Regions from separate parts of the Homo sapiens genome. Here all the other regions are linked to region 4. The links are contacts of gene promoters, found by promoter capture Hi-C in blood cells and fetal thymus (Javierre and others, 2016). All regions are on one chromosome and are shown on one strand. Each heading gives the region's core, a stretch centred on a gene start or on the middle of the fragment in contact. The rest is flanking DNA. Distances are from core to core; before and after follow the strand shown. Region 1 has its middle 1.7 kb from the start of LHPP. Region 2 overlaps ABRAXAS2 (abraxas 2, BRISC complex subunit). Region 3 overlaps OAT (ornithine aminotransferase). Region 4 holds the start of IKZF5 (IKAROS family zinc finger 5). Region 5 has its middle 7.6 kb from the start of OAT. Region 6 has its middle 140 kb from the start of CHST15. Region 7 overlaps ATE1 (arginyltransferase 1).

Evidence for each region. Contacts are between HindIII fragments. The CHiCAGO score rates a contact against its expected background, and 5 or more counts as called.
Region 1: a contact is called between a fragment that was not itself captured here and the fragment with the promoter of IKZF5 in region 4, in 8 of 17 cell types (fetal thymus, total CD4 T cells, activated CD4 T cells and 5 more). The highest score is 11.8, in fetal thymus.
Region 2: a fragment that was not itself captured here is called in contact with the fragment with the promoter of IKZF5 in region 4 in 1 of 17 cell types (total B cells); the score reaches 5.4 in total B cells.
Region 3: a contact is called between a fragment that was not itself captured here and the fragment with the promoter of IKZF5 in region 4, in 1 of 17 cell types (naive CD4 T cells). The highest score is 5.5, in naive CD4 T cells.
Region 5: a fragment that was not itself captured here is called in contact with the fragment with the promoter of IKZF5 in region 4 in 2 of 17 cell types (fetal thymus and naive CD4 T cells); the score reaches 6.1 in fetal thymus.
Region 6: a fragment that was not itself captured here is called in contact with the fragment with the promoter of IKZF5 in region 4 in 1 of 17 cell types (fetal thymus); the score reaches 5.1 in fetal thymus.
Region 7: a contact is called between a fragment that was not itself captured here and the fragment with the promoter of IKZF5 in region 4, in 3 of 17 cell types (total CD8 T cells, non-activated CD4 T cells and naive CD4 T cells). The highest score is 6.8, in total CD8 T cells.

Annotation. Positions count from the first base shown.
Region 1 is chr10:124,458,633-124,461,571 of GRCh38, forward strand. No RefSeq gene overlaps it. Among named protein-coding and RNA genes, the nearest start is that of LHPP, 1.7 kb to the right of the region's middle. The HindIII fragment of the contact is 2,693 bases long and covers 344-2,939 here.
Region 2 is chr10:124,807,944-124,810,973 of GRCh38, forward strand. All of the region lies in intron 2 of ABRAXAS2 (abraxas 2, BRISC complex subunit), which reads left to right. Among named protein-coding and RNA genes, the nearest start is that of ABRAXAS2, 7.6 kb to the left of the region's middle. The HindIII fragment of the contact is 5,680 bases long and covers 1-3,030 here.
Region 3 is chr10:124,401,887-124,404,863 of GRCh38, forward strand. It overlaps OAT (ornithine aminotransferase), which reads right to left. Exons shown (of 10, transcript NM_000274.4): 6 at 1,912-2,034; 7 at 1,041-1,169. Among named protein-coding and RNA genes, the nearest start is that of OAT, 16 kb to the right of the region's middle. RefSeq lists enhancers at 1,574-2,117, 1,654-1,948 and a silencer at 1,654-1,948. The HindIII fragment of the contact is 9,199 bases long and covers 1-2,977 here.
Region 4 is chr10:123,007,387-123,010,540 of GRCh38, forward strand. IKZF5 (IKAROS family zinc finger 5) reads right to left here and starts at 1,409. Exons shown (of 5, transcript NM_001372123.1): 1 at 1,308-1,409. ACADSB (acyl-CoA dehydrogenase short/branched chain) reads left to right here and starts at 1,620. Exons shown (of 11, transcript NM_001609.4): 1 at 1,620-1,685. The coding sequence starts at 1,644. RefSeq lists enhancers at 686-915, 1,196-1,525. The HindIII fragment of the contact is 4,856 bases long and covers 126-3,154 here.
Region 5 is chr10:124,425,172-124,427,943 of GRCh38, forward strand. No RefSeq gene overlaps it. Among named protein-coding and RNA genes, the nearest start is that of OAT, 7.6 kb to the left of the region's middle. The HindIII fragment of the contact is 4,361 bases long and covers 1-2,772 here.
Region 6 is chr10:124,232,667-124,235,770 of GRCh38, forward strand. No RefSeq gene overlaps it. Among named protein-coding and RNA genes, the nearest start is that of CHST15, 140 kb to the left of the region's middle. The HindIII fragment of the contact is 2,220 bases long and covers 434-2,653 here.
Region 7 is chr10:121,922,081-121,925,006 of GRCh38, forward strand. It overlaps ATE1 (arginyltransferase 1), which reads right to left. Exons shown (of 12, transcript NM_001001976.3): 2 at 2,186-2,249; 3 at 269-331. Among named protein-coding and RNA genes, the nearest start is that of ATE1, 4.5 kb to the right of the region's middle. The HindIII fragment of the contact is 1,089 bases long and covers 866-1,954 here.

The DNA of each region.
Region 1 (2,939 bases), core at 440-2,939, 1.5 Mb after region 4:
CCATGCCTGACGCTGTCCATTGCTAGACTATCTGGTTGTGCGAGCCAATAAATTCCTTTAAATTGAAGCCATTTGAAATTTGGCTTCTGTCACTGGCAGCCGAAGAGTCCTGACTATGACAAGCAAATCTGAAAGGATGAGGCATATGTCTAGTATAGCAATAGATGGTTGATAGATTCATAGTTGAGCTGAAATTCAGACATGAGTTGTAGATTTGCTATAACAGGCTGAAAGCTCAGTCAGTGGTGTATGCTTCCTGGCACACTATGGTGTTCATGTGCCACCTGGCTAGCTCTGGCCCAAAAGATGCAAATGAGAGTCCATTGGATCAGGGTTCTGGGAAAGCTTTTGCTTTCTGGGTATAAAGGGTCAGACTCAGCTGTCACATGCCCTTTTTTCTTTTCTTTCCCCTCCTTCCTGCCTGAAATGCAGTCATGATGCCTCGGGTGGAGCAGGAATCTTGCTAGCGTGAGGAGCAGGCCACATGCTGAGAGAGTGGTGGAGCAGAAAGCAGGAGGCAGCCTGATGGTCCTGGGAGCTGTTGTCCCATCCAGGATTTCCTCCCTCTTGGCTTCTTGATATATGAGGAAAAGTAAAATCTGATTTGGTTGGGCAACTATGGCTGGGTTTCTGTTACATGTAGCCAAATGCAACCCTAACATAGACAATGCCCTACACTCATTGCATCCCAAGAAAAGCCTGGAATTTTCAGATCAAGTTTTAGCCTATCAGTGGCCCACACTTAGAGACTTGCCACATTTTTCAGGTGAGGGACCTGGATCCCTGTATTTGTTTCTTGTCACTACTGCAAGAAATTACCATATACTTAGTGGCTTAAAACAACAGATTTATTATTATAGTTCTGGAGGTAAGAAGTCCTAAACTTGAAGTACCAGCAGGGCTGCATTCCTTCTGGAGGCTCTAGGGGAGAATCCAATTCTTTGCCTTTTTTAGCTTCCAGAGGCCACCTGCATTTCTTGGCTCATGGCCCCTTTGTATTCAAGGCCAGTAGCACGGTATCTTCACACCTCTCTCTCTGACCTCTGCTTCTGCTGTCACACCTCCTTCTCTGACTCTGACTCTCTCCTGCTTCCCTCTTTCCCTTATGAGGACTCATGTCATTATACTGGGCCCACCTGGACCATCCAGGATAATCTCCCTACAGGAGCATAGGCTCTGCAAGATCTAAGTCCCTTTTGCCATGTCAGGTAATATATTTAGAGGTTGTGGGGATTGGGAGGTGGACATCTCAAGGGGGCACTATTCTGTCTACTGTAGTCGTAGAAATGAAAAGGGACTTGCCCAAGAGTACCCACAGAGCTGACTGAAAAGAAACAACTATGGGTAGGCTCACACCACTGGCAGAAGCACCCCTTTTCCTCCTCCTTGGCATGAAGCTAAAGCCCAGCCATTCTCCAAGGTCCATTTCAGGCTGCCCCTGCCCAGAAGCCACAGCTGCCCTCCTAGGCCTGCAGAGGTCATCCTCTTGACTGTGTCTGTGTCACTCATTGCCACTTGGCACACATTTGGTCAGCAGTCGTGAAGGTCTTCCATTGTTCTCTGCCCAGTCTTGATCCTGGAAGGCAAGGATCACACCCTAGAACTTTTTTGTGCCCACTGCACAGAGTAGGGTCTCAATACGTGTACGGTTCATGATGTTCCTAGCAGATTCTCCAAACTGACTCACTCAGCCCCTGGAACACTAAAAACTGCATTTCCCAGACTCCTTTGCAGCGTGGGCTAGGTTCCACCAAGCCAGACACAGTGAAAGTGAGTGGGTGGCCACAGGTGGAGGGCACAGTGGTGGATATGTTTTGTTCTTTTGGGGGCAGCTATGCTGGGGGCTGCACTAAGTGATGGGGCAGTGGTCCCAATGGAGTAGTAAAATTAAGTGTTTCTCGTGGCTGCATGGCTCCTGGCTGTGTAGGACTTAGACCCGTCATCTGTAAGCTCCTTCACCTCATGTAAACAAAACCCCTCTAGCTGGAGTGGTGTCTATTGTCTGCGACTAAGAACCCTTATATAAGGTATACTACTCCCCAACCCCATTAGTGGAAATCCCAAAGGGTAGGAACTGTATTTTATTTCACTTGTAAACAGCTCCCCTAGTAAGCATGTCAACAAAATATACACAATTCATTGAACCCCATAACATTTCAACGAATTCCTCATCCTTTCTGTGAATCAAGAGCCTGAAAAGAAATGGTGAAATAATATGATCCTCTCTTCTTTGAAAGCTCAAAGCTATGTTGGACCAGAAGTAAAGTGTTCTCGTTTCTATTTAATAACTTGAAAGGTTCCGAGGGGCCATTGAGGAAACTCCTCCCTTTTAATATCAATGTGTATTTATTGCAAAAATAATGTAGCATCGAGTGGTATTTTATAGCTTATCCAAAAACCTCCTGGGTTTAACGCATTGTGATAGTCCCGTTTTCTTCTCAGCCCAGGTCCTATGCATCCTCATCTATGCAGGGCTGTTATCTGCATATAATTTTTTTTTTTTTTAAGACAAAGTCTTGCTCTGTCGCCCCGGCTGGAGTGCAGTGGTGCAATCTCGGCTCACTGCAACCTCCGCCTCCCAGGTTCAAGCGGTTCTTCCGCCTCAGCCTACCGAGTAGCTGGGACTACAGGCATGCGCCACCACACCTAGGTGATTTTTGTATTTTTAGTAGAGACAGGGGTTTCACCATGTTGACCAGGCTGGTCTCGAACTCCTGATCTCAAGCGATCCACCCGCCTCAGCCTCCCAAAGTGCTGGGATTACAGGCATAAGCCACTACGCCCGGCCTCAATTTTGTATTGTACTTTTTCTTTCTTTCTTTAATAGAGACAGGGTCTCACTATGTTGACTAGGTTGGTCTAGAACTCCTGGGCACAAGCTGTCCGCCCGCTTCTGCCTCCCAAAGTGCTGGGATTGCAGGCGTGAACCACCGCCCCTG
Region 2 (3,030 bases), core at 364-2,863, 1.8 Mb after region 4:
TTACTAAACCTATACAGCCTTCTGAGGGATAAGCCAAATACCCACTTCGGAGGAGATATCTGGGGAAGATGAAGGAGTCTTTATAGCTATAGACACGCCCACTCTCTTTGGATCAGCCTCCTTTTGATAAATAGAGGTCATAGTCCTTTCAGGTACACTTCAGGCAGATCACCAAACTGCATATCCTAATACTCTGAACAAAGCAAGGAACTTTTCATTTATTTATGCGGCAAACTTTTTTTTTTTTTTTGAGACGGAGTCTTGCTCTGTCGCCCAGGCTAGAGTGCAGTGGCACGATCTCGGCTCACTGCAAGCTCCGCCTCCCGGGTTCAGGCCATTCTCCTGCCTCAGCCTCCCGAGTAGCTGGGACTACAGGTGCCTGCAACCACGCCCGGCTAATTTTTTTGTATTTTTAGTAGAGACGGGTTTTCACCGTGTTAGCCAGGACGGTCTTGATCTCCTGACCTCGTGATCCGCCCACCTCAGCCTCCCAAACTGCTGGGATTACAGGCGTGAGCCACCGTGCCTGGCTATGCGGCAAACATTTATTGAAGAACTTTCATATGTGAGGCGTGTGCTGGGCAGTGAAGGAAATACCCAGAATCATCCCTGCCTCCTAGAGCTGCGGGGAGGATTAGACAGGCAGGAAGAAATACCAGACAGTGCGAGAAGAATTCTATAAGAAAGTAACAGAGAAAATCCCCGAACTGCCCAAAGTTGAGAGGAAAACTGCTAGTGGAGAAATCAGTAAAGATGTGTGTCAGGAGGTAAACTTAATGGGCAGTACATTCAGGGGAGCACAGAACGAGGTCTGCATAAAACACATAGCGAATCTGGCCTGTTCATATGACTAAAATACAGAATATGTGGAGATGAGTGGTTTGTGGTTTGAAATACTGTTGGCTAGCGGGGTGCAGTGGCTCATGCCTGTAATCCCAGCACTTTGGGAGGCCAAGTTGGGCGGATCGCCCGAGGTTGGGAGTTCAAGACCAGCCTGACCAACATGAAGAAACCCCGTCTCTACTAAAAATACAAAAATTAGCCGGGTGTGGTGGCACATGCCTGTAATCCCAGCTACTCGGGAGGCTGAGGCAGGAGAATCGCTTGAACCTGGGAGGCGGAGGTTGTGGTGAGCTGAGATTGTGCCATTCCACTCCAGCCTGGGCAACAAGAGCGAAACTCTGTCTCAAAAAAGAAAAAAGAAAAAGAAAAAAAGAAAAGAAAAATGAAGAAATACTGTTGGCAAGTGGCAACTTTGGTCATGTTGGGAGCAAATAATTAATTTCAAGCCTGTTCTGATAGGCTTCTAGTATGTGGGGTAGGGGACAAGGGTGTTTTATTTATTTATTTATTCATTTATTTTTGAGATGCAGTCTGGCTCTGTTGCCCAGGCTGGAGGGCAGTGGCGTCAGCTCACTGCAACCTCCGCATCCCGGGTTCAAGCGATTCTCCTGCCTCAGCCTCCCGAGTAGCTGGGATTACAGGTGCATGCCACCATGCCCGGCTAATTTTTGTATTTTTAGTAGAGACGGGGGTTTCTCCATGTTGGTCGGGCTAGTCTCGAACTCGTGGCCTCAGGTGATCCACCCGCTTTGGCCTCCCAAAGTGCTGGGATTACAGGTGTGAGCCACCACGCCTGGCCCCAAGGGTGTGTATTGAAGTTAGGTCAGGATTAAGGGGAATCAAGAGGCTGAACTACCTCCTAATGCAGGCTTGTCCAACCCACGGCCTGTAGGGTGCATGCAGCCCATGGCAGCTTTGAATGAGGCCCAACACAAATTGGTAAACTTTCTTCAAACATTATGAGATTTTTTTTTTTTTTTTTTGAGACCGAGTTTCACTCTTGTTTCCCAGGCTGGAGTGCAATGGCACGATCTTGGTTCACCACAACCTCCACCTCCCGGGTTCAAGCGATTCTCCTGCCTCAGCCTCCCTAGTAGCTGTGAATACAGGCATGCGCCACCATGCCCGGCTAATTTTTGTATTTTTAGTAGAGACGGGGTTTCTCCATGTTGGTCAGGCTGGTCTCGAACTCTCGACCTCAGGTGATCCGCCCACCTTGGCCTCCCAAAGTGCTGCGATTGCAGGCATGAGTCACCACGCCCAGCCATTATGATATTTTTTTGAAATTTTTTTTAAGCTCATCAGCTAGTGTTAGTATATTTTATGTGTGGACCAAGACAATTCTTCTTCCAATGTGGCCCAGGGAAGCCAAAAGATTGGATACTCCTGCCCTGGTGGATCAAAACTATAAAACCCACTCACCACATTATAGACTTATTTACTAAGTAAAGGTTTGAAACTGGGTGCAGTGGCTCATACCTGTAATCCCAACACTTCGGGAGGCCGAGGCAGGAGGATGGCTTGAGGCCGGGAGTTCAAGACCAGCCTGGGCAAGGTGGCGAGACCCTGTCTCTACAAGAAATTTTTATAATTAGCCAGGCGTGGTGTTGTGCTTCTGTAGTCCTAGCTACTCAGAAAGCGAGGTGGGAGGATTGCTTGAGCCCGAAAGTTTGAGGCTACAGTGAACCGTGATCATACCAGTTCACTCCAGGCTGAGCAACAGAGCAAGATCTCATCTTAAAAGAAAAAAGACTTGCGATGTGTAAGACGGTATAGTTAGTCTTTCGTCGAGGATGTTTTTGGTTTTTTTTTTTTGAGATGGAGTCTCCCTCTGTCACCAGGCTGGAGTGCAGTGGTGCAATCTCAGCTCACTGCAGCCTCCACCTCCTGGGTTCGAGTGATTGTCCTGCTTCAGCCTCCCGAGTAGGTGGAACTACAGGTGCACGCCACCACTCCCAGCTAATTTTTGTATTTTTAGTAGAGATGGGGTTTCACCATGTTGGCCAGGATGGTCTCGATCTCTTGACCTTGTGATCCATCCGCCTTGGCCTCCCAAAGTGCTGGGATTACAGGCGTGAGCGACCACGCTGGCCCATCTAGGGTGTTTTTATTTTTCTTTTCGTTTTGCTTAATTCTTTAAAACCCTAAAACAGCCGGGCGTGGTGGCTCACGCCTGTAATCCCAGCA
Region 3 (2,977 bases), core at 1-2,500, 1.4 Mb after region 4:
TACTAAGCATCCTTTTCCCCAGAGTCTCGCTGTCACCCAGGCTTGAGTGCAGTGGCGTGATCTCAGCTCACTGCAATCTCTGCCTCCTGGACTCAAGCAATTCTCCTGCCTCAGCCTCCCAAGTAGCTAGGATTACAGGTGCCCACCACCACACCACACATGTTATTTATTTATTTATTTATTTTGTAGTTTTAGTAGAGATATAGTTTCACCATGTTGGCCAGGCTGGTCTCGAACTCATGACCTCAGGTGATCTGCCTGCCTCGGCCTCCCAAAGTGCTGGGATTGCAGGCATAAGCCACCACACCCGGCCAAGAAACTGATACTTAATGACTTCAACGAAAGAGTTTACATCTGCCAACCTAACTACCAGTAACAACCTAATGACTTAGTCATACCCTAAAACATTACAAATACTTTAGGTACACTTCAATGGCACAAAACAATATAATTTTGCAACTAAAAGAGAAAAGCTATTTCTGCAATGATATAATTTCACAATCACTTCCAACGTCGAGATGAAATGCTTTGTTTAAATGCTTAAAAAACAAAGCTGAGCATTCTTTTTAGCAAAAGTTTTGTCTATTCAGCAAAAACATCTATACTTCAGAGACCTCTGATGTAGTAACAATTACTGGCTCTGAAAGGCAAACCCAAGACATGAACTACAACAAACATTAATTTTTCTCAGTCTCTTTGTTCACCAGTCATGGTTTTAAACAATTAGTAATATGCCATGTTTCTGAACACTGGAAAAAAGGACAGGAGTCTACAGGAGTCCTTTGGGGGTAAACTGTTTCCACCCAAATCCAATGTCATAGCAAATTCCAAGGCACACTCAATTCTTCAGGCAATAAGTAAGTGGGTCACACACTGGTCCCTTAAATGTTTTTATTACAGATATTCCGGGTGGCCTGCAGCACACTTGGTAAAATCAAACAATCTGAAAGCATTGTTGTCACAATCAGTTGATGTATAAATACTTTAGGGGTATATTTTACAAGAGTAGGAAATGGAAAGAGGGGGAACATGAAACTTACAGGGTATAAGCCCCCAGAAAGGGCCTTTCCAAGGAGGACTATATCAGGTCTGACATTTTCATAATCAACAGCCAGCCATCTACCAGTTCTGGCCAATCCTGTCTGTATTTCATCAGCAATAAAGAGAACCTATTGGGGAAAAAAAATACCCCTATTAGTGATCACTTTCGTTTCCACAGGGAAAATAGCCATCCTTATTTCACTGTCCCCCCACCAACAATAAATGTGTAATTCTGATGTGCCCTCAAATTTGTAAAAATGTTTTAACTGCACACAATTTCAAGAGTATCCTATAAGAATCTTGTAGACTCACCAACTATTTCCTTTGTCAGGCCACTATCTCCCTAGAGGCCCATTCTGCCCTGCTCTACATAGTGAAAAGGTGCTGATGCAAAGGTGAGGGTTTTGTATGGCTTTTCTGGACCTAACTACCCTCTGGGAACAAATTAATTCATTTGTTTATTCCACAAGCATTTAATATGTGACAGAAACTCTCAAATGGTAAACAAAATATACTACTATTAGCCCTGGGGGAAAGGAGGAGAGAATACAACAAAGGGCTTGCGGGGGCTCAGAGTGAAAGGCTCTTAGAGCAGCGAGGAAGGAAACGCTGTTAAGACCAGGTCTGCAGTTCTGCACAGGGCCCAGGACAAGGCCAGAGACAGGAAAAAGTCTGCTTCTGTGCAGGTTTCTAAGCACTAGGAAGTACTTAAGCTCTTAGAATGCCATCGCCCTCTAGTGGAAAGTAATTTAATCTTTGCATTTATCCAATCAGCAGAATTCAGAGAGGAGTTGGGGAGGAGCCCATTCAGCCTCATCACAAACAGCTAACTCGACATTCAGCCTTATCACAAACAGCTAACGTGACAACCTGGTGCCTGGTGCAGAGCTCTCGCACTCCCATTAGGTAACCTGGATCCGGAACAACAACGCCTGCTTCACCCTGAATTGGTTCTACCATGAACGCAGCCACATTTGGATCCTGAAGAGCACGCTACAGAAGAAACAGGAATAAGTTTTAATAACTTCCTTTCTACCACACTTGGAAATCTGAAAGCATATACCACACATATTTTACATTAAGTATGCAAATCAAGTTTTCGCACTAACGTAAATTCTGACTTCAAATTCACTGCCATTCAATTATCAGAAGCTCCAAATACCTCACCTTTAAGTTACACTAGCCTACATTTCCTTTTTTGCCTCATTCTGTTGCCCAGGCTGGAGTATAGCAGCACAAACATGGCCCACTAAAGTCTCGAACTCCTGGGCTCAAGGTGATCCTCCTGCCTCAGCCTGCCAAGTAGCTGCGCACCATGCCCAGCTAATTTTTTATTTATTTTCATTTTTTTTTTTTTGGAGATGGAGTCTCACTCTGTCACCCAGGCTGGAGTGCAGTGGCACGATCTTGGCTTACTGCAGCCTCTGCCTCCTGGGTTCCAGCAATTCTCCTGCCTCAGCCTCCCAAGTAGCTGGGATTACAGGCGCACAGCACCACGCCCAGCTAATTTTTTTTTGTATTTTTAGTAGAGACAGGGTTTCACCACTGTCTCTGGTTTCACTGTTGGCCAGGCTGGTCTCGACTCCTGACCTCAAGCAATCTGCCTGCCTCGGCCTCCCAAAGTGCTGCGATTACAGGCGTGAGTCACCGCGCCTGACCTTGATTTTTAAATTTTTTTGTAGAGACAGGCTCTCCCTATGCTGCCCAGGCTGGTCTTGAACTCCTGAACACAAAGTGCTCCTCCAGCCCTGGCCTCCCAAAGCACTGGGATTACAGGCATGTACCACCATGCCCAGCCTGTTTTCTAATACACAAATGTACCTAAATTAAATCTGGCTGGGCACAGTGGCTCATGCCTGTCACCCCAGCACCTTGGGAGGCCAAGGTGGGCAGATCACTTGAGGTCAAGTGTTCGAGACCAGCCTGGCCAACGTGG
Region 4 (3,154 bases), core at 159-2,658:
CTACCGTTTTCTCACTGGTGGATTAGTTTTTGGCAAGATTTTTAATGTCTAAATTTAAGTTAAACTTCAGTTTAAAGAAATTAAGATTAACTTCATTTAGTCACAGCACACTTCCAAAACGGTCAAGCTTAGTACTGCTGAACAGCTGTAGTTGCATAAAAACAACGCATAGTCCTAAGTAGGGAAATGGGAAAGGGCTTTAAATACAAAAACAAAAAAAACATGCACACCCGATAAGGGCACATCTGAATCCCATCCTTCTTATCCTATCATAACACAAAACAGCTACGGTTTTCTGGGAAACATCCTGGACCGCTAGGGGAAAATAACACCAGACATTTCAATTCACTGTAACGAACTCTCATCAATAATAATAACCTTTAGCTGTTGTGACAACACGACATAAATCAAAATTAAATTGAATTTTTAAAATTGTTAGTTCCTACGTTTAAAAAAAAGTTGTTTTAAATACATTCTGTTCTTTCAAAACTGAATTTCCTCAGATCACACAATTTAAGACGCCTTTATGTCTTCTTCCGCTTGTCACACGTCTTTCGGGTTCTGACCAGCACATCAAGGGGACTCTAAGCAGGCCACGTGGTTAGTGTTTGCTAGAACTTGTTTAGCTTCAGATCCAGTCATCGAGCATGCTAGGCTTGGCTACTCGCGCTCCACACAGTTTATCCAAAGATCTAAACCCCGAATGAACCTGAATAGTTATTTGCTACAATGTCTTTCTCAAATCTCACATGTTCCTAAAATAAGGGTGCCCATGCAGTAGAGACGGATCCGGGCAGGATCATTAGATAAAATACGAAGGCTTTAAACGTCCTTCTCCCAACAATCAGCCTGGGACCGGCGTCGGGGCAGCAGCCTCACCAAGATTCGGAGCGACATCCTCGCCAGGATTCGAAACACCTAGGAGACCCGCGCCCGGCTGACTCCCAGCCCCTGGGACCCCGTGAAGACGCAAACCTCGGGACGCCTCCCGCAGAACCACCTGTCAGAGCCAAGCAACAGTCCCCGCCCCGGAGCCTCCGAGCTCCTGCTCGAAGGCAATGACAGCAGGAGACCCCGCTCCCTCGGGGTTCTCGCGGCCATAGGCGCCGCAGTCCACTGCCCTCCGGCTAAAGAGGTCCCGGGCCATCACCTGCCCGCCTACCGACCACGCCCGACCCTCCACTGAACTGAGTCTCCGTCCGGATCAGCCGGCCCGCCACGAACCCAGCTCCAGTCTCCGGCCGCTCCTTCTTATCCGCCCTGTCCTGCCGCGTCGCCGCCGTCCGAGCCGGCAGCCTGCTACTTACCTCCTGACAACTGCATGGAGTAAACCACACCGCCTTGTTAAATGCCGTCGCCGCCGCCGCCGTCTTCGTCACCGTCACAGTCGCCGCCGCCATCTTTGTTGTGTCTCCGACTCCCTTCCCGCCCCCCTGCCTTGCTCAAGTCTCGCGTGAGCAGGATGGAGGGCGAAAGCGAGGAGGGGCCTGTTTGTCTCTCTTGGGGTTCCGTAGGCAGCAGGGGGCAGGGATTAAGGGGGGGTGTGTGCGGGGCGGGTACTGAGTGGGCGGGGCCTTGCTCGGGTAACTCCCAGGGGCTGGCTAGAGACCCAGAGGCGCAGAGCGGAGAGGCCTGCGGCGAGGATGGAGGGCCTGGCAGTGCGGTTGCTGCGCGGCAGCAGGCTGGTGAGTGCGTTCGAGGCTGGCGTCCTGGGGGCCCAGGGCGACCTTGGCCCCTGGAATCGCAGCTGGCAGAGCCTTCTAACGGGCCTCGGGGCGCCGGCCTGAGCCCCGCTCCACGTCCTGGGTCCCCAGACTCTTTACCCGCGGGCAGTCTATGACCCCGACCCCCTTCAGGCCTCTGGTGGAGGCAGCTGGTGGCAAGGGGGTCGGGGCTGTCTAGAAGCTGCTTTGGCGGAGCAAGTACCTTGAGTGGAGTCGGAGGGTCGCGTCCGCAAGATGTCCTTTGCAGGCCGTTGCGTCCTGAGAGCCACCGAGTCTGGATCTCTGGATCTCTGGATGCATTTTGCACAGATGTCACCTCCCTGATGCCCTAACGCACCTTTCCCGAGTGATTACATTTCACACCCCCTCCCCCAAAAAAGATAGTTAAAATATAGGCCCAGTCTCATTCTGAGCAGGTGTCTCCCTGTCCTTCCTTCCGCGGCCCCGCTCAAAGGTAGTAAGGGACTTCGGAGTTGTTCGGGCTTCCCGGCCAGGGACAGAGTTCCCTCTGCCCCTTATCTCATGTCTGGAGCCTGGGTATCTTCCGTGGATAGACTCACCGCCGCCCAGGGGAGCCGGAGCCGGTGCCGGTCCCTCTTCCATGAACTTAAGCTGAAACCAGCCTCTTGTTGTGCTTAATTCTTATCTGTGCACCCACACAAACTGTTAACAGCCCCTGTGTTAACATCCTATGCTCTTCACCCCTTGGACCTATTATATAGCATGCTTTTCAGAACATACACATTTGGATACACTTGTATTTGTCAGTACACTTCACTGGGAATTTTCCCACTGCTTACGTGTGCTTTTAATGTTTCCTTTGCATTTGCTTTAATGAGTTAGGCTTTCCAACTGCTGCTTCAGTCTTATGCCCAGAGGCAGAACTCTGACCCTTTTTCTTATTAGAGATAATTAATGTTATTTGACTGTTTTACAGGCCTGAAGTGCAATAAAAAACAGTAAGTGATTATTGTTTAATACTGTTTATAATTGTTGGTTAATAACTTAGCAAAGAAAATTTCTTTGGTTTTACAATTTGACTCTGTTTTAGAGCCAAAATTTATTGACCGCATACTCTGTGGTAGGCACGTTCTCGTTCTACCTGAGTCATCTCAATTCTCACAACCATCTTAACAAGTAGTTTAATCTTGCAGATGCTGAAAAAGAATAATAGCTTGCCCACAGATAGAAAGGGATAGAGCTGGTGGTATTCGAACTCTGGTCTGATTCTAAACTTAACCTTCATATACTACTGTCTCCCCGTCCTTAGAGATATCAAAAACCTATTTTGTTTGAACTTTTGGTTTATTGTGGCTTATAGTCCTTTATAGTTTTTGAAGCTCTTTTACATAAATTAGCTAAATTGATTGAACATCGACTGTAGCATAGTGGTTAAGAACGTAGGTTCTGTAGCTAGGCTGCTTGGATCT
Region 5 (2,772 bases), core at 62-2,561, 1.4 Mb after region 4:
CCTGAGGTCAGGAGTTCAAGACCAGCCTGGCCAACATGGTGAAACCCCATCTCTAAAAAAATGTAGCTGGGCATGATGGCAAATGCCTGTAATCCCAGCTATTTGGGAGGCTGAGGCAGGAGAATCGCTTGAATCCAGGAGGCAGAGATTGCCAAGAGCCAAGATCGCACCATTGCACTTCAACCTGGGTGACAGAGTGAGACTCTGTAAAAAAAAAAAAAAAAAAAAAAACTAATCTAACTCTTTTAAAGGCAGAGAAATCCAATCCAAGATTCCAAGGTAAAGGGCCCCCACCTGTCTTACGAAATGGGTCACAGGGACAGCCAAGAAACTGTGTGTTCTACCAATCATGTTCCACATTTGAGACATTTAATCAGAAGTAAGAATTTTGACTAAGAACAAAAAAGGCTGAAATAAAAGTTTTTAATAAAAATTTAAGGAATGAGCAGCAGTATTTATTTAAAGAATATTACATTGCTCGTTAATTTTAAAAAATAAGATAAACCTCAATTACTAGTTAAACATTTACTTTATATCCTTATCTATTTAGGTACTAAGAAGATCAGTGTGTTTTGCAATGATTTTTTTTATTGATTCCATGATGGCAAACTTAGATAACTTTGATTACTTTTCTTTTGAGGACTTTAATTCTGACTCTTTGAAGTTGGACTATAATAAAAACAAACCAGAAAAGAAGAAATTTCCACAGTTTATTCCTGAAATTGTTGACCTAAGTAAATGTATGGAATAAATATATGAAATGCTATGAAATAAATATATTAATACAATGGGTATTGTAAATCATTTCATCTTTGCTGAAAACATTTAATATTTTTTGCACAGAACTTTGCAGAGAGTTTCACCGTTTGGGACAATCGAGTTCACCAAAAGCAATGCCAGTCCTGGTATTTGGGTCATCAATACGCTCTGTCTTTGTGGCTGTCACATCCTTAATCGTGGTATAGGAAGCTGGGCACAGTGGCTTACATCTGTAATCCCAGCACTTTGGGAGGCCAAGGTGGGTGGATAATTTGAAGTCGGGAGTTCAAGACCAGCCTTGCCAACATGGTGAAACCCCGTCTCTACTAAAAATACAAAATTAGCTGGGTGGTAGTGGTGTGCGCCTGTAATCCCAGGAGGCTGAGGCAGGAGAATCATTTGAGCCTGGGAGGCAGAGGTTGCGGTGAGCCGAGATGGTGCCACTGCGCTCCAGTCTGGGCGACAGAGTGAGACCCTATTAAAAAAAAAAAAAGTCATATAGAATCCTTCCTTTCTCTCTTTTTTCTTTTGTTCTCTTTTTTTATTTTTGGAGTTGGGGGACAGAGTCTCGCTCTGTCACCAGGCTGGAGTGCAGTGGCACGATCTCGGCTCACTGCAACCTCCACCTCCTGGGTTCCAACAATTCTCCTGCCTCAGCCTCCCAAGTAGCTGGGACTACTGGGACTAGAGGCGGGCGCCACCATGCCTGGCTAATTTTTGTATTTTTTAGTAGACACGGGGTTTCACCATATTGGCCAGGCTGGTCTCAAATTCCTGACCTAATGATCTGCCCTCCTTGGCCTCCCAAAGTGCTGGGATTATAGGCGTGAGCCACCGCACCCGGCCAGGATCCTTTCCTTTAACCTGTATTCTCCCCCAAAAGATTTTAGTTACAGGCTGGACGCGGTGGCTCACCCACCTGGCACTTTAGAAGATCGGGGCGGGCAGATCACTAGAGGTCAGGAGTTCGAGACCAGCCTGGCCAACATGGTGAAACCCCTAAAAATACAAAAAATCAGTTGGGCGCAGTGGTATGTGCCTGCAATTGCAGCTACTCGGGAGGCTGAGGCACGAGAATCGCTTGAACCCAGGAGGTGGAGGTGGAGGTTGAAGTGAGCCGAGATCGTATCACAAAAAAAAAAATTAAAAAAAAATTCTTGGAGATCCTTAAGTTATATTCTTCTCCACCACCTTAAGTTTGACTTAGTCCTTTGATCATACAAATTACCTCTTTTGTTTTTGTTTTGTTTTGTTTTTGAGACAGGGTCTCGCTATGTCACCTGGGCTGGAGTGCAGTGGCACAATCACAGCTCTCCACAGCCTCAAACTCCTGGGCTCAAGCAATCCTCCTGCCTCAGCCTCCTAGGCAGCTGGGACCACAGGTGTGTGCCACCATGCCAAGCTATTTTTTTTTTTTTTTGTAGACATAACGGGGGCGGTCTCACTATGTTGCCCAGGCTGGTTTCGAACTCCTCTTGAGCTCAAGTGATCCTCCCACTCAGCCTCTTAAAGTGCTGAGATTACAGGTGTGAGCCACCATGCCTGGCCTCTCTCCACTTTTAATTCAATTTTGAACTGTTTCGGCAGGGCTCCTAATTTGCAAAGGGCAGTGCACAGCCTTTTGATTCCAAAGAAAATTAAGGCAATTAAATACATTTCAGCTCTGGCCCTCTGAGGCACATGCCGGTGTCAGTCTTGACTGTGGCCAATGCTCTAAGGAACATGTTAGCCAGACCCCAGAGCACCCAGCGTTCATACTACAGAGTGCTTGAGAGAGCAGGCTTTGGATTGAGGCAATCCAGAAGTCAAATCCTGACTCTATCGATAATCAGTTAGGTAACCTGAGACCCCAAGCCTCACTTATCCCATCCTGTAAAAGGGGTTGTTCTAAGGATCACTGACACATGTGACGCTTCTCCAGCTACTTCTAAGCCACCTGGCGGCTCAGTACAAGGTAGTGTAATTATCTTTATTTACAATGATAAGTGAAGGCCCTTCTCCAAGTCCTCTAGC
Region 6 (3,104 bases), core at 294-2,793, 1.2 Mb after region 4:
AACCACTCTCTTCTGTTGGGTTTTTAAAGACCATCCCCACCCAAATTCCTTCCTGCTGGCCCACCCTCAGGTCTGTGGATTTTCACACTGGCTGGAGGCCCTAAAGACCCTCCACTCCACCCTAGTATTGCCCAGCGCCATCCCCTTTTCACCCTGAGATGTCTTTATTAAGGAAGGAAGAGACGGGATGCCCACCACCATTGATGGATCGCGTGTTGTGTGCCCAGCACCGACTTGGCCCTGGCCGTGTAGTTATTTCCAAGGATTGTCACACCACCCTGGGAGGGACAGAGGTGCTGTTGGTCTGGGTCTGTTGGACCCCAAGCCTATCCCCATCTTTACACAGAACTCAATGTCTACCCAGAACTTGACAGTTACACAGACCTCGATGGCTCTTCTCCAAATGCACTTTGGTCTCTTGAGTCTAACAAGAAGCTTCCCCTCCCTGCTAAACCAGCTTCCTGCCCCGAGCTAGAAATAGGTGGGAGCAGAATAGCTGAGTTGCCAGGAGCAGCCTGTTCCTAAGGGGCCATGGTTGGAAAAGTCACACGACCAGAGCTTCTCTCCTGCTCCGACTTCCTCCAGGTCCTTCCTGCCTTCCTTCCCACGCCAGGAACACAGCATCCACAATTAAACTGCCAGAAATAGACCGGCTTGGACCAGGGTGACAAGACGTGCTTCAAGCCTTCTGAACCCCTGCACAGCCTGGCTCACCCACAGGGAACTAAGACGACTAATTATGGTCAGCTCAGACAAAAGGCAGAGGATGAGATGAGCCAGGCGCTTGGCCAGAAATGAGTTTCTGTCCCCGATATCTCTCCCATCCCTGCTTCCCCTCCAGACATGCTGGCACTCTGTGTCTTTGCACCAGGTCCACCTCAGCGCCCCAGGCTTCCCGTGGCTTCAGCAGTACTGAGAGTCAGAGTCTGGCTGCCCAATACCTGAGCCGTTCTGTGCTCCCTTGAAGCCCCTGTTTACAGCATCCCACCACGGGACCTGCCGATCCTGGTAGCACACACCACGACGCTCCCTCCGGAGGGACCGGCCCAGGTCAGACAGTTGGAAAGAGACTCCAGCGATGAGGCTGGAGAGGTGAACAGGGGCTGGCCACTGAGACCCTGTCACACCAGCCAAAGCTGATGGCCCAAACCACGCAACGTGTGCTTCTGAAAGACTTCCCTGGCTGCAGAGGGGAGGGGTTTGGGGTGGAAGGTGAGAGGCAGGGGCCAAGCCGGAGGCTGCATGGGGTGTGGCAGGGCCATGCTGGGCTCCCACGGCCACTCTGGACAGCCTAGGTGTCAGTCACAGGAGAGGCCCCCCGCTCCAGGCACGCTCCCCCAGCCCTCTGTCCACCAGGCCTTTCCGCAGCCCTGGGTGGGTGGCAGCCACAAGGCAGGTGGCCCTGCCTACTGCAGCGCTCCTGAGGCAGGCCCACTGCCAGGCCCATTTGCGGGGGGCCCAGCACCCCCAAAGCCAAGCACTTAGCTCTGGGGGACCTGGAGCTATGGAAGCACAGTGACAGAGTGGGTGGGGGCAAGAGGAGAGGGATAGGAAAGAGTAGTGTACAGGGAGACCCATACCCTATAAATGACAGAGGCAGCACACGGGCAGGTGTTGGGACTTCTTGCAGTTTCTCCACGGTGTATCTTGTTACCCGGCCGTGGGTGACCTGTGCAGTCACACGGGACCTCACTCAGAAGGGCTGTGTTCTTGGTTTCATACTCCCCTGTTGTCATCTTGCAATTCTTAATAATTTTATATTCAAACTTGCATTTTGTAAGTGAAGTCCAGATGGGTCAAGCACATGTGGGAGCAGAGGAGGCACGTTTGAGATGCGTGTCGGCCTCAGTTTCTGCTGTCTCAGGCTCACCACGGGGCTTCCACAACACATGCACCTTGCACGTGGGGCCCTGGGCTCAGGAGGGGCCCAGGCTTGGTTTACTATTCTGCTGTCACCATCTTGAAATTCTTAATTTCGTCTTTGAACTTGTGTCCTCTGTTCCTTGTCACTCGGTAAGCATCAAATTCTGGTGAGCCCAGGACGGGAGTTCAGTGAGACTTGCCCTGAACACAAGGACACGCTGCGTGAGCAGGACATTGACGGACCCAAGAGGCCACACTTTCCCTTCAAACCAGAAAGCGCTTCCATCTTAGAAGAAAAACAGTGGCGTTCTTAGAAACGCGAATAACCGAGGAGACTTTATCTTATCCTTTCATACTGTCGCTTCCCCACGTTAGCCAACCACTCAGGCTGAAAATGACAACTCAGAGGGAAGGGAAAGGCAGGGCAGCCCTAGTTTCTTCCCTTCAATTCTTCCTCACTCGTCAGTGAGGCGAAGGCAGTGAGTGTTGGCAGAATGTGATTATATCAAACAGCAAAATAAAAACAGTTGAGGGTCTCCACTATCCTGGTAAGAATGAAATACACGTGAATGCAAGAAATACAGAATGCAAGTTGTGCCATTTCAGGGACTCTGTGTATGAGTTAAATGCTCTTACATTTCTATTCAAAACTGACATTATGCAATGTAAAGAATGAATGGTAAAATTCATGCTAACAATTTAAATTTTTAATTTTCTTTATTTAGAACATCATTAAATAGCAAATTTAAAATACCACGATAAGTCTAGAAAGAGACCGGAAGAAAGGAAAAGCTTTATATTTTAGTATCTTCAGAGGCACTTTTTTCCTGCTTTGCACTGAGCTCTGCAAATTATCTACCGTTTCTGCCTGGCCAACTCCTATTCATCCTTCAAGGCTCTACTTAGATGCCACCTCCTCCAGGAAGGCCACCCTAACCCCAATGAAGCATTAAATGCCCTTCCTGCATGCTTCCATAATCAATAACACTATCCTCACCCCTGTGCTGAAATTGTCAATCTGGTCAGCTTTGCGGCTGGACATGATTGCCAGATTTACAGCCGTACAGAGGGCTCTCTCCCTGTCCTCAGAGCTAGCCAGGGCCTCGCACATAACAGGTGCCCCTTTCCTGTTTGCTGAATGAACAAATGGACCAATAAAAATAAAGTGCCATATGCCAGACACCATTCTCAGCATTTTGCCCACACAACCGATGAAATGAACAGATGATGGCATCAGAATT
Region 7 (2,926 bases), core at 160-2,659, 1.1 Mb before region 4:
CATGGCATTCATTGACAAGATTGCTAAATTAAGAGGGTATTTTTTTCACATATTTATATCTGAACCAATCAAACAATATTACTAAAACCTACTGATCAGCACATAAATACAGCATCAGTATGAAGAAAAGACATAACTCATTTACTTTTCCTTTTAAAGGACATCTACCTAGAGCGGAAATAAACATTAAAAAAGCACAAGAGACTACTAAAATATTATACACAATCTTCATACTATAAATCCTCTTTCTACTAATTAAAATTCTTACCTTATTGTGTACTGAGGACAACATGTTTGATTCATGACAGGTTTGTACACATATTTTCCACTTCTAAAATTATAAAAATAGTTTGTTAATGTCTTATATATTTTTCACTTGCACCAAAACAGCCTAGCACAGGAGCATTAAATTAAGGTTAAAAATCTAATCAACATTGTAGAAATGCATGTAGGTTTAATTACTCTTCATAAGCCAAATAATCTTCAAAGTGCGTGTAGCAAAGTTTAGAACCCTGCCTTTTATTTCCTAAAGCTTTACTTGTGTACCCCACGGCCAATCATCTCAGTTCCCCTCTCACCAGCATCTGCCACCCCTGCTCTGCCTTCACCTGCCACCAATCCCCAATACCACAAGGGCAATGAGAGAAATGCCCACGATGCTGTGGGACTCATGTATGTGATGCCTGTGACAACCACACTTGGGTATTCCACATGCACCAGCACGGAGTACCCCAAAACTAACCCGCTTCTTTCCATGCATTCCAGGTCTATGGTACTAACAGAACTGTTCATTCTGTTCTCAAGTCAGAGACCTGGGAGTCATTTTAAACTCCTCCCTGGAATTCACCTCTATATCCTATTAGCAAGCTTTCCTTCATTTTAAACCCTATCCTAAATTGTCCCCTCTTCTCTATCACCATTGCCACTAAGGTGACAGTCCTCATCATCGCACATCTGGATAGCGCAATAACCTTTGAACTCATCTTCCTGCCTCTATGACCCCCCCTCAAATACCTCTCAGCCATCTGAACAATCTTTTCTAAAACAAATTCCTTCACATTTCTCTCTTACCATAAAATCCTTCCATGACTGCCTTCTAAAAAGTTCTGGCCAGGCATGGTGGTTCATACCTATAATCCCAACACTTTGAAAAGCTAAGCTGGAAGAACACTTGCAACCAGATGTTCGAGACCAGCACGGGCAACATAGCCAAGATCTTACAAAAAACTGAAAAATTAGCCAGGTGTTGTGATGCACACCTGTAGTCCTAGCCACTGCAGAGGCTGAGGCAAGAGGATCACTTGAGTGTGGGAATTTGGGGTTACAGTGAGCTATGATGATGGCACTGTACTCTAGCCTGGGCAAGAGAGCGACTCTAGCCTGGGCAACAGAGCGAGACCATGTCTCTAAAAAAAAAAGTTCCTTATCATGGCATGTGAAGTCCTTTAAAATCTGACCTATGTCTACCTTTTGAATCTCATTAAGTTTAAGGAAAGTTGTGATATTTCAGCTGGTGCTCCCAATCCCACGTCTTTGGCAAGTATTAGCGTACAGTATTTAATATTACTTATATTTACACAAGGAACTTTACCTAAGAGTTACTTAAAAATCATCCACATAAAAATAACTACTCAAAACAGGCCATGTGTGGACTTTAAGGAAATCCTTATCCAAATAAACTGTTAAAGAAGACATTTTTGAGACAATCTGGAAAATCTAATAAAAAGTAGGTAACAGGTAACATCAAAGAATTTTTATTAATTTTGTAAGGTGTGATACAGCATTGTGGATAAGTTAAAAAGAAAAAAAGACCTCTCTCTTAGAGATACATACTTATTGCCTATCTATTGATAGGATAAATGTCATAATAACCTACTGATGTAATTTGCTGTTAAATATTAAAAGGTGGAGCAGGAGAATCAAACATGATTGGCAGAACGTTAATAACTGCTGAAGCTTAGTGATAGGTACTTGAGGTTCATTCTAATGTACTCTCTGCTTTTATAGATATTTGACATTTTCCTAACAAAGTTTTTTAAAAAGGAGACAAAAAATCACTACATAAAAGAATATAATAAAAATTTTTCTTAAACCTCTTTCCAACAGGAAAGCATTTCAAAGGCATGCTGTATTTTTCAAGAACCTGAGTAACAGTAGGAAGTCTCTTTGTATCTGGAAGCTTTACCTTCGCCATCCTCGGTCTATGAGATCCTGATAATCCTGTACTGTCATGGAATGTGCCCACATGCCTGAAAAAATAAGTAGTGTGTTAATTACGGCAGGGTAACCTTTTTTCTTTTTTAAATTCAAAGTGTGAGGTTTAAAAATAGGAGTGTGTGTCCGGGCACGGTGGCTCATGCCTGTAATCCCAGCACTCTGGGAGGCCAAGGCGGGCAAATCACAAGGTCAGGAGTTCAAGACCAGCCTGGCCAACATGGTGAAACCCCATCTCTACTAAAAATACAAAAATTTAGCTGGGCATAGTGGCGGGCGCCTGTAATCCCAGCTACTCAAGAGGCTGCAGCAGGAGAATCACATGAACTCGGGAGGCGGAGGTTGCAGTGAGCCAAGATCACGCCACTGCACTCCAGCCCTGGCGACAGAGTGAGACTCCATCTCAAAAAAAAAAAAAAAAATAGGAGTGTTTAGGTTAAAATTCCAAAACACTCATATTGGATAAATGAAAAGTTTGTACATACTTCACAGCTGTTAGTTGGGCATACACACAGCACAAATAAAGAATGACACTATATATATTTTCATTCAAAAAAACACATCGAAGTTAATTATATTTATTTGAGGATTAGTCAATAGTCTCTATGACAGCATAAATTTAAGTCCTCACTGCAATCAGACTGCATCAGACCTTCAAACTTTAATAAATATCCCCAATGATTTAACATGCTGGTCTCTTCAGAAAACTTAG